3 separate regions of the Homo sapiens genome follow, and regions 2 and 3 are each linked to region 1. Evidence: promoter capture Hi-C in human tissues and cell types (Jung and others, 2019). All regions are on one chromosome and are shown on one strand. The core of a region is centred on a gene start or on the middle of the fragment in contact, and the rest is flanking DNA. Distances in the headings are between cores, read along the strand shown. Region 1 holds the start of SNURF (SNRPN upstream open reading frame). Region 2 has its middle 23 kb from the start of MAGEL2. Region 3 has its middle 3.1 kb from the start of MAGEL2.

Region 1 (2,968 bases), core at 238-2,737:
TTTTTGTAGAGATGGGTTTCACCATGTTGGCCAGGATGGTCTCGATCTCCTGACCTCGTGATCTGCCCACCTCGGCCTCCCAAAGTGCTGGGAATACAGGCGTAAGCCACTGTGCCCAGCCTACATTTTATTTTTCGATTGACTCCCGTGATCAGAGTCAACTTCCCATGTTATTTTATGTGAATATGTATCAATGAACTATTAGAAATTGCAATGTTTTTGTAGGTCAAAACAATTCAATATTGACAATTTTATATGATTCAGCCTAATACATCATTTTTTCCATCAGCCATATTGCATGTTATTATTTATATATACGTTTATTTAGTTAGCCTATCTGTTCTCTGTGAGGAACATTACACAGTTTCTGAGATTTTGTTACGATAGAAGTCAGCATTGATAAGCCTCTGCGCACCTGTTTTAATGTAGGATCATTGGGAACTGAGCAGTAGCTTACAGGGCTTGGGAGGGGATTTAACCATTTAGTCAACCTCCACTCACATCACCCTCCCTTCTTCGATAATGGGCAATTGAGAAAGGGCAAATGTGTGTAAAAACTATGCAGATGCAGTTTCAGGATTATTTTCTTCTTTTCTGCAGTGTCTTTTCCCAAGCTACATCAGCGTCTAAATTTTGGAGTTACTGATGCTTCCGTTATTTCTGCAGATAGAATATTATGTCGTAAATAATGTTTACTTGTCCATTAGTATTATATAAAAGTGCCTGTTTCTCCCCACTCCAGCTATCATTGATTATTGGTAAAAATTTTAATGTATCCAATTCTAATAGGCAAAGAAAGGCTCTCCTACTTAGATCTTAGGTGGGGGTCTAAGTTCATATTTTTGTTTTACAAAAATTGAATAGCCAGTGTTTTTGAGTTGAATGATCTATCCATTCCGTATAGGAGAGTTTAATTATATTGTGATTTTGGGGGAGATAATTTTCACAATTTACCCCCTCAAAATGTAGAAAGTAGAAAAAGGGTAGAAAAATCGCACCAAATTTGAACAATGTAGCATGCTTTTAGAGTTAGGGATATTTTCTTTTGGAAGGATTTCAAGTCTGGCGTATTTGCATTGATTGTGGTTATGGCGCATTTAACTTTTCCAAACCAGCTTTTTTGTACCGCACATAGGAAGACCTGAGGGTGAGTGTAAATTAGGATTGTTTGGCCAGTGGTGTGTGCAAAAATTTATTGTAGAACCAAGAATTATTTCTTTAGTATTTTACACATTTTAAAAAACAGGTAGACATGTCCATTGATCCCAGGTTGCTTATGGTTTCTAGAGGCCCCCTCTCATTGCAACAGTGCTGTGGGGCCCTAGGGGTCCAGTAGCCCCCTCCCCCCAGGTCATTCCGGTGAGGGAGGGAGCTGGGACCCCTGCACTGCGGCAAACAAGCACGCCTGCGCGGCCGCAGAGGCAGGCTGGCGCGCATGCTCAGGCGGGGATGTGTGCGAAGCCTGCCGCTGCTGCAGCGAGTCTGGCGCAGAGTGGAGCGGCCGCCGGAGATGCCTGACGCATCTGTCTGAGGAGCGGTCAGTGACGCGATGGAGCGGGCAAGGTCAGCTGTGCCGGTGGCTTCTCTCAAGAGACAGCCTGGGGAGCGGCCACTTTTATTCATCAGATATTCCAAGTTTTTAGGACTTGGAGTACTGAATAAACGGAATTTGGGCCCTAAAGTCCTTTGTTCTGGAGAACCAGATCCGGAATGTTCAGAGGCTTGCTGTTGTGCCGTTCTGCCCCGATGGTATCCTGTCCGCTCGCATTGGGGCGCGTCCCCCATCCGCCCCCAACTGTGGTGTCGCGACAGGTCCTATTGCGGGTGTCTGCGGTGGGAAGGGCGGTGGTGACTGGGAGCATGCGGGGTAACCGCAGTGGGCAAGGGACATGGGTGGAGGTGGGTACATCAGGGTGATTGCAGTTCCGTGTGGCGAGGGTACGTGGGGGGACCAGTGCATAGGGATTTTAGGCGGAGGTAGGTATATTGGAGTGATTGTGGCGGGGCGAAGGTACGTGAAGTGATCGGTATTTAGGGGGTGTTGAGCGCAGGTAGGTGTATAATAGTGACCACTGCGTGGTGGAGCAGGGTACGTGGGGCGACTGGGGGGGGAATTCGTCGCAGTGACCGAGGCGAGGAGGCTATGGCAGTGGACCAGGGGGATGAGTCGGTGTGACAGTGGTGGGGGTTGTGTTGGTGGTCGCGGCGCGGGGAGAGTCCGTAGGAAGTGGCTGGGAGGTAGGGGGAAGGCGGCGACAGTGGGTATTGGCGGCGGTGGGCATTGGCAGCGGGTAGGCATGGCGGTGGTGGACTTTGGCGGCGGTAGGCATGGCGGCGGTGGGCATGGCATGGAGGCGGTGGGCATGGCGGCCGCGGGGCCTGTCGCTGTCCGGAGTGACTAAGGGACGCTGAATGATTGCTGTGTAGAGGAGGGGGCATCAGAAGGGGCAGTAGCACAGTCCGCAGCCTTTAATTTTCCTGTGACCTGCGATGGTCATCTGGTTTGCCTACTGTGGTGGTGGTGCTTTTTTATTAAAACTGCGCAATGCCTACACTGCCGCAGGGGCTGCAGAAATGCGTGGAATCCTTGCGTACCCTTTAGGAACCCTCGCTTTAGAGGCTATGGCATAAGAAGACTGGAATGATGTGCAGAACTTGCATTTACAGATCTTTTGACTGATAGGCCAGGTGATGCCTGGGGGTTACTTTTTTTTCATTGTTTCTCTCTGTTGGGAACCAGGTCTTGGAAGGCTATGTCGAAATAACCTGGGGGTCTGTGTTGCGTCACTGCCATTGTGCAGCTCCTTCAAGATGGCCGCCGCTGCAGCGGCTTAGATCTGCGCAAGCGCTTCAGCGGGGGGGTGGCCGCTTCCTCCCTGTAGAGCCGCCAGTGGGGAGGGGGCAGGTGGTGTGTGTTCAGCTTCTGCTGTTTCGGAGTTTCAGCCGTACCCTCTTTAGGGTGCAGTGG
Region 2 (2,968 bases), core at 271-2,770, 1.3 Mb before region 1:
CTCACCCTCCTCTCACCCTCCACTTTTAAGTGGGTCCTGATGTCTATTGTTCCTTTTTTTGTGTCCATATGTACTAAATGTTTAGCTACCACTTATAATTGAGAACATGAGGTTTTCTGCTGCTGTGTTAGTTTGCTTAGGATAATGACTTCCAGCTCCATCCATGTTGCTGCAAAGGGCATTATCTTGTTCTTTTTTATGGCTGCATAGTATTCCATGGTGTATATGTACCACATTTTCTTTATCCAGTCCACAGTTGATGGACATCTAGGTTGATTCCATGTCTTTGTATTGTGAATAGTGTTATGATGAACATACACATGCATATGCCTTTATGGTAAAAAAATTTATATTCTTTTGGGTATATACTCAGTAATGGGATTGCTGGATCCAATGGTAGTTCTGTTTTAAGCTTTTTGAGAAATCTTCAAACTGCTTTCCACAATGGCTGAACTAATTTATATCCTCAATAGCCATCCTTTTTCTCTGCAACATCATCAACATGTGCTTTTTTTTGTTTGTTTGTTTTTTTTACTTTTTAATAATAGCCATTCTGACTGGTATGAGATAGTATGTCATTGATGTTTTAATTTGTATTTCTTTGATGATTAGTGATGTTGAGCAGTTTTTCATATCCTTGCTGGCCACGTGTATGTCTTATTTTGAGAAATGTCTGTTCATGTTCTTTCAGCATTTTTAAATGAGATTGTTTTTAACATGTTGATTTGCTTAAGTTCCTTATAGACTCTGGATATTGGGCCTTTGTTGGATGCATATTTTGTAAATATTTTCTCACATTTGTAAAAATAAGTATATGGCTTTATTTCTGGATTCCCTAACCTGTTCTGTTGATCTTTGTATCTGTTTTTGTGTCAGTACCATGATGTTTTGGTTACTGTAGCCTTGCAGTATAGTTTGAAGTTGGGTAGAGTGATGCCTCTAGCTTTGTACTTTTTGCTTGGGATTGCCTTGGCTATTTGGGCTCTTTTCTGTTCCATATGAATTTTGGAATAGTTTTTTTCTAATTCTGTGAAAAATGTCCTCGGTAGTTGGATAGGAAAAGCATTGAATCTATAAATTGTTTTGGGTAGTATGGCCATTTTAACAATATTGATTCTTCCTATCCATGAGCATGAAATGTTTTTCCATTTGTGTTGTCTCTGATTTCTTTCAGCAGTGTTTTTTAATTCGTGTTGTAAAGGTCTTTCACCTCCCTGGTTAGCTGGATTTCTATATATATTATATTTTTTGTATGTCTAATGTGAAGGGGATTGTGTTGTTGATTTGGCTCTCAGATTGGATGTTATTGGTATATAAAAATACTACTGATTTTTGTACATTGATTTTGTATCCTAAAACTTTGTTTAAGTTGTTTATGAGACCTAGGAAGCTTTGGACAGATAACATGGCGTTTCCTTAGGTATAGAATCATACAATCTGTGAAGAGAGATAGTTTGACTTCTTTTCTTCTTATTTGGAGCCTTTTATTGCTTTCTCTTTCCTCATTGCTCTAGCTGGGACTTCCAGTACTATGTTGAATAGAAATGGTGAGAGTGGGCATCCTTGTTTTGTTCCAGTTCTCAAGGGGAATGCTTCCAGCTTTTGCCCATTCAGTATGATGTTGGCTGTGGGTTTGTCACAGATGGTTCTTATTATTTTGAGGTATGTTCCTTCGATGCTTAGTTGATTGAGGGCTTTTAACATAAAGGGATGTTGAATTTTAGTGAGAGTCTTTTCTACATCTGTTGAAATAATCATGTGTTTTTTGTTTCTAGTTGGTTATGTGATTAATCACATTTTTTAAAATTTGCATCTGTTGAACCAACTTGGCACCCCAAGAATAAAGCCTACTTGATTGTGGTGGATTATCCTTTTGATGTGCTGCTGGATTCATTTTGCTTATATTTTGTTGAGGATTTTTACATCTATGTTTATCAGGGATATTGGCCTGAAGTTTTCTTTTTTCATTGTGTCTCTACCAGGTTTTGATATCAGAATAATGCTGGCATCACAGAATGAGTTAGGGAGGAGTCCCTCCTCCTCTATTTTTTGGAATAGTTTCAGTAGTATTGATACTACTGAATCTCTTTATATGTCTGATACAATTCAGCTGTGAATCTCTCTGGTCCAGGACTTTTTGGGGTTGGTATTTTTTAAATTACTGATTCAATTTTGAAACTTATTATTGGTATGTTCAGGTTTTCAATTTCTTCCAGATTCAATTCCAGGAATTTAACCATTTCCTCTAGGTTTTCTAGTTTGTGTACATAAAGGTGTTCATAATAGCCTCTGAGGACTTTTTGTATTTCTTTGGGATTAGTAGTAATGTCCTCTTTGTCATTTCTTATTGTGTTTATTCGGATCTTTTTACTTTCTTTGTCTAGCTAGCAGTCTACCAATCTTATTTATTATTTTAACGAACATGCTTTTGGTTTCTTTGATATGTTTTACATGGTTTTTCTCATCTACATTTCATTCAGGTCAGCTCTGATTTGGGTTATTTATTTTCTTCTGTTACCCTTGTCATCAGTTCGCTCTTGCTTTTCTAGTTCCTTTAGGTGTGATTTTAGTTTGTTAATTTGAGGTATTTCTAACTTTTACATGTAGTCATTTAATGCTGTAAACTTTCCTCTTCACACTGTTTAGCTGTGTCCCAGATATTCTGGTATGTTGTATCTGTGTTTTCATTAGTTTCAAAAAATGTCTTGATTTTTGCCATAATTTTATTGTTTACCCAAATTCAGTAGTAGATTTTTTAATTTCCATGTAATCGTGTGATTTTGAGAGATCTTCTTGGTATTGATTTCTATTTTTACCGTACTGTGTCTGACCATGTGGTTGGGATGATTTCATTTATTTTGAATTTGTTGCGAATTGCTTTGTGGCTGAGTGTGTGAGTGATTATAGAGTGTATATGCCATGGGCAGCTGAGAAAAATGTATATTCTGTTGTTGTTATGTTAGGTCTA
Region 3 (2,968 bases), core at 348-2,847, 1.3 Mb before region 1:
AAACCTTATATATACCATGTATCCCTTTCATTCTCCTTCTTCACAATTTCACAGATAGTTTTGTTTTTGCCATATATCTTAGCAATCTCAGCATGCGATTTTTTCTTTCCTTATTAAGTCAAGAACTTTCACCTTTTTCCTTCAAGGAAGCACTTCATAGCTTCCGTTTGGCATACCTAAATTGCCAGGATCACTATTCTTACATTTTGGGGCTATTACTAAGTAAAACAAGGGTTCCTTGAACACAAACACTGGGAAACCGATGGTAGATCTGATATCTGAAGCAGCTACTAAGTGGTTAATGAGCAGGTAGCGAATACAGTAGCACTCCTGTGCCTGCAGTTTCACATTGTGTGGTTTCAGTTACCTGCAATCAAATGCAGTCCAAAAAATTAAATGGAAATTTCCAGAAATAATTTATAAGCTTTAGATTGCATGCCATTCTGAGTAGTATTATGAAATTGTTCTGTTTCGTCCTGCCTGGGGCATGAATTATCCCTTTGTCTAGTGTATCCATGCTGTATATGCTACCCGCCTGTTATTCACTTAGTAGCTGTCTCGGCTATCAGTTGAAAACATCGTAGTACATATAGGATTCAGTACTATTTCCAGTTTCAGGCCTCCACAGGGGGGTCTCAGAATATATCCCCCAAGGATAAGGGTGGACTACTGGACATCACTCCTGTGTATCCCCAGAGAAGGCCATCTACCACAGCACACAAAAAGCTTCTGCAGAATGGATACTACCGTGTTTCATGGTTTTCGTTTCTCCCTTGGGTTAATGGCCCAGATCCACACAGGATTTCTCAGTTTCATGGGGGTTTGGAAACACTGTAGAAGGACAAACTCTAAATGCCTAACCCTCAGGACCTGCTATTATCAACTCTGCTACATGGCTGTTACTGGCTATGGATGGCTTTGGAAAAATCAGTTTATTTTTTAGCCTAGGGCATTTCTAAAGCATACTTTTTTTCCACTCTAATGCAAATGTATAAACTACACAGAGATTAAGTTCTCCCACTAACCGTTTATTTTCGGGAATTATGACAGGTTTGTCCTGCCGTCCACCATGCTGTTGGTCATCCCACACAATGAATGGCTCCCACTAGGGTCTGGCTATTCTCACTGATGTTGGAGGTCAGTGAATAGCACTGACATACAGTGTCAACTCCCACCGAATCTGTTCTATGAAAAGAGGTCCGGTTTATGTTAAGAGGCAACACCAAAGCCAGAAAGAAAAGATTAGGCATTATACAAAGGAAAAAACAGGTGCGTAGGAGTAGTTAGAAATGGAAGATGAATAACTTCTACACCAGCACTATTGCCACTGCTTGGAAACATTCTTTAACCGGCAGGGAAAAATCAGAGATTATGTATCCATTGATTCTATAGGAACAAGTAAAGAGGGTAAACCCAGTTTATTCTCCCTGGAAGAAACATCTGCTTATTTCAGATAGTCAGTGCTCTCAGACCCAGGCTGTTCCTGGGGCTCTCCCTAGCTATTTACAAATTACTTGTGAGCAAAATTCACCTGAGGAAACAGGGACATACGGGTCGTTTTTGAAAACTGACTGCCTTAATCACAGCAAAACATAATATTGCCCTGAGTCTAGTGAGGCATTAGACCACAAGTGTTGGGTCTTCCCAAATCACTCCTGTGAAACCTTCCTGCTTCCTGAAGCCCTCTTTCCCTTTCTGTGCATATGTTCTTCCTCCTCAACACCTTTGAACCAAGTGTTGTCAAAATTCCCTTTCCTCACTTTTATATGAAACAGCTTGAAAATTCAAGGTGAGTAGAAAACAAAAGGGAAAAACATACAAAACATCCATGAAATGTTGGCCTCTGTTCCCTAATTAGAAAGGACTTTTAATGGCTTACGTCAGTATATAACAGCAGTATACAAAATGATTTTTAAAAACAGGGAAGGGAGAACTGAAGTATTGTGATGGGAGTAGGAAAATTGCGGAACTAGGAGCAGACGGGAGCCTGTTTTGCTCACCTTGGTATCCCCAGCTCGCATTGAGTGGTCACTAAGGAGCTACAAAATGAAATGGTAAGATTAGCACCAGAACTGCCTGTCTTCCAATCTTCTGTAGCTGTTAGACTTTGTGTAAATATTCATAAGTGAGTAACAAAATCAGTTATGATTTTCATAAACTCTAAAATTACTTATTTATGAAATACCTTTTATTAAGCATTCACTATATGCCCAGCACTGTGCTATAGATAAGACTACAGAGAAAAATCTGATGCAAGTCCTATTTACATCTATTGTTAGTCACATAGGGACATTAATCTAATCTATCGTTAGTCACATAGGGACATTTCACGAATCTATTGTTAGTCATATAGGGATATTCATATGGTTTTTTAGTACAATAAGGTGTTGTCGCATTGTTTAAACCTCATATTGGTCATAGAGGATGAAAATAATCAAATACTCACTTCTGCTTGGAACATGGGGTGAGGGGAGCTGTGATGCTGATTGTAGCAGTGAAAAGAAAGAAAACAAACCTGAGGCTGTGAAAGATTCATGTGATCCAGATAGACAGTCTAAGTAGAAAAATTATTTAAAAAGCATAGGAGATATCATAAGTATGAGGTTTGAAAAAAAAAGAATTGGAAGGATTAAAATAGTGTAACTACTAGTTATCAACAATTTATTATTTGATAAAATACCATCCTCAGAGTATAATAGACTCTATTCATTGATTTCTCACAAAATCCATAAGTATTTGGCTTGATTTTACATGGCAAGAATTTGAGGCTCAGAAGATCTAGCAATACATATCAGAATTCAGATTTAAATCCCAATCTATTCGTTGTGAGAGCTTGCATTCTTTTTTTTTCTTTTTGCCGCTGACCACCAGGCAGGGTCTTGCTCTCTCACCCAGACTGGAGTGCAGTGGTATGATCATAGCTCACGGCAGTCTGAAACTCCTGGGCTCAAGCCATTCTCCTGCATCA

The links. The method cuts DNA at HindIII sites, captures the fragments that hold promoters and counts their contacts. A contact is called where the count stands out against the background at its distance.
Region 2: a contact is called between a fragment that was not itself captured here and the fragment with the promoter of SNURF in region 1, in 1 of the 25 tissues and cell types used here (dorsolateral prefrontal cortex).
Region 3: a fragment that was not itself captured here is called in contact with the fragment with the promoter of SNURF in region 1 in 1 of the 25 tissues and cell types used here (dorsolateral prefrontal cortex).

What each region holds. Positions count from the first base shown.
Region 1 is chr15:24,953,500-24,956,467 of GRCh38, forward strand. SNURF (SNRPN upstream open reading frame) reads left to right here and starts at 1,488. Exons shown (of 3, transcript NM_001394334.1): 1 at 1,488-1,563. The coding sequence starts at 1,550. It overlaps SNRPN (small nuclear ribonucleoprotein polypeptide N), which reads left to right and starts at 1,488. Exons shown (of 10, transcript NM_003097.6): 1 at 1,488-1,563. All of the region lies in intron 4 of SNHG14 (small nucleolar RNA host gene 14), which reads left to right. RefSeq lists enhancers at 1,903-2,468, 2,469-2,968, 2,859-2,968. The HindIII fragment of the contact is 13,657 bases long and covers 1-2,968 here.
Region 2 is chr15:23,623,146-23,626,113 of GRCh38, forward strand. No RefSeq gene overlaps it. Among named protein-coding and RNA genes, the nearest start is that of MAGEL2, 23 kb to the right of the region's middle. The HindIII fragment of the contact is 3,876 bases long and covers 1-2,968 here.
Region 3 is chr15:23,649,434-23,652,401 of GRCh38, forward strand. No RefSeq gene overlaps it. Among named protein-coding and RNA genes, the nearest start is that of MAGEL2, 3.1 kb to the left of the region's middle. The HindIII fragment of the contact is 3,194 bases long and covers 1-2,968 here.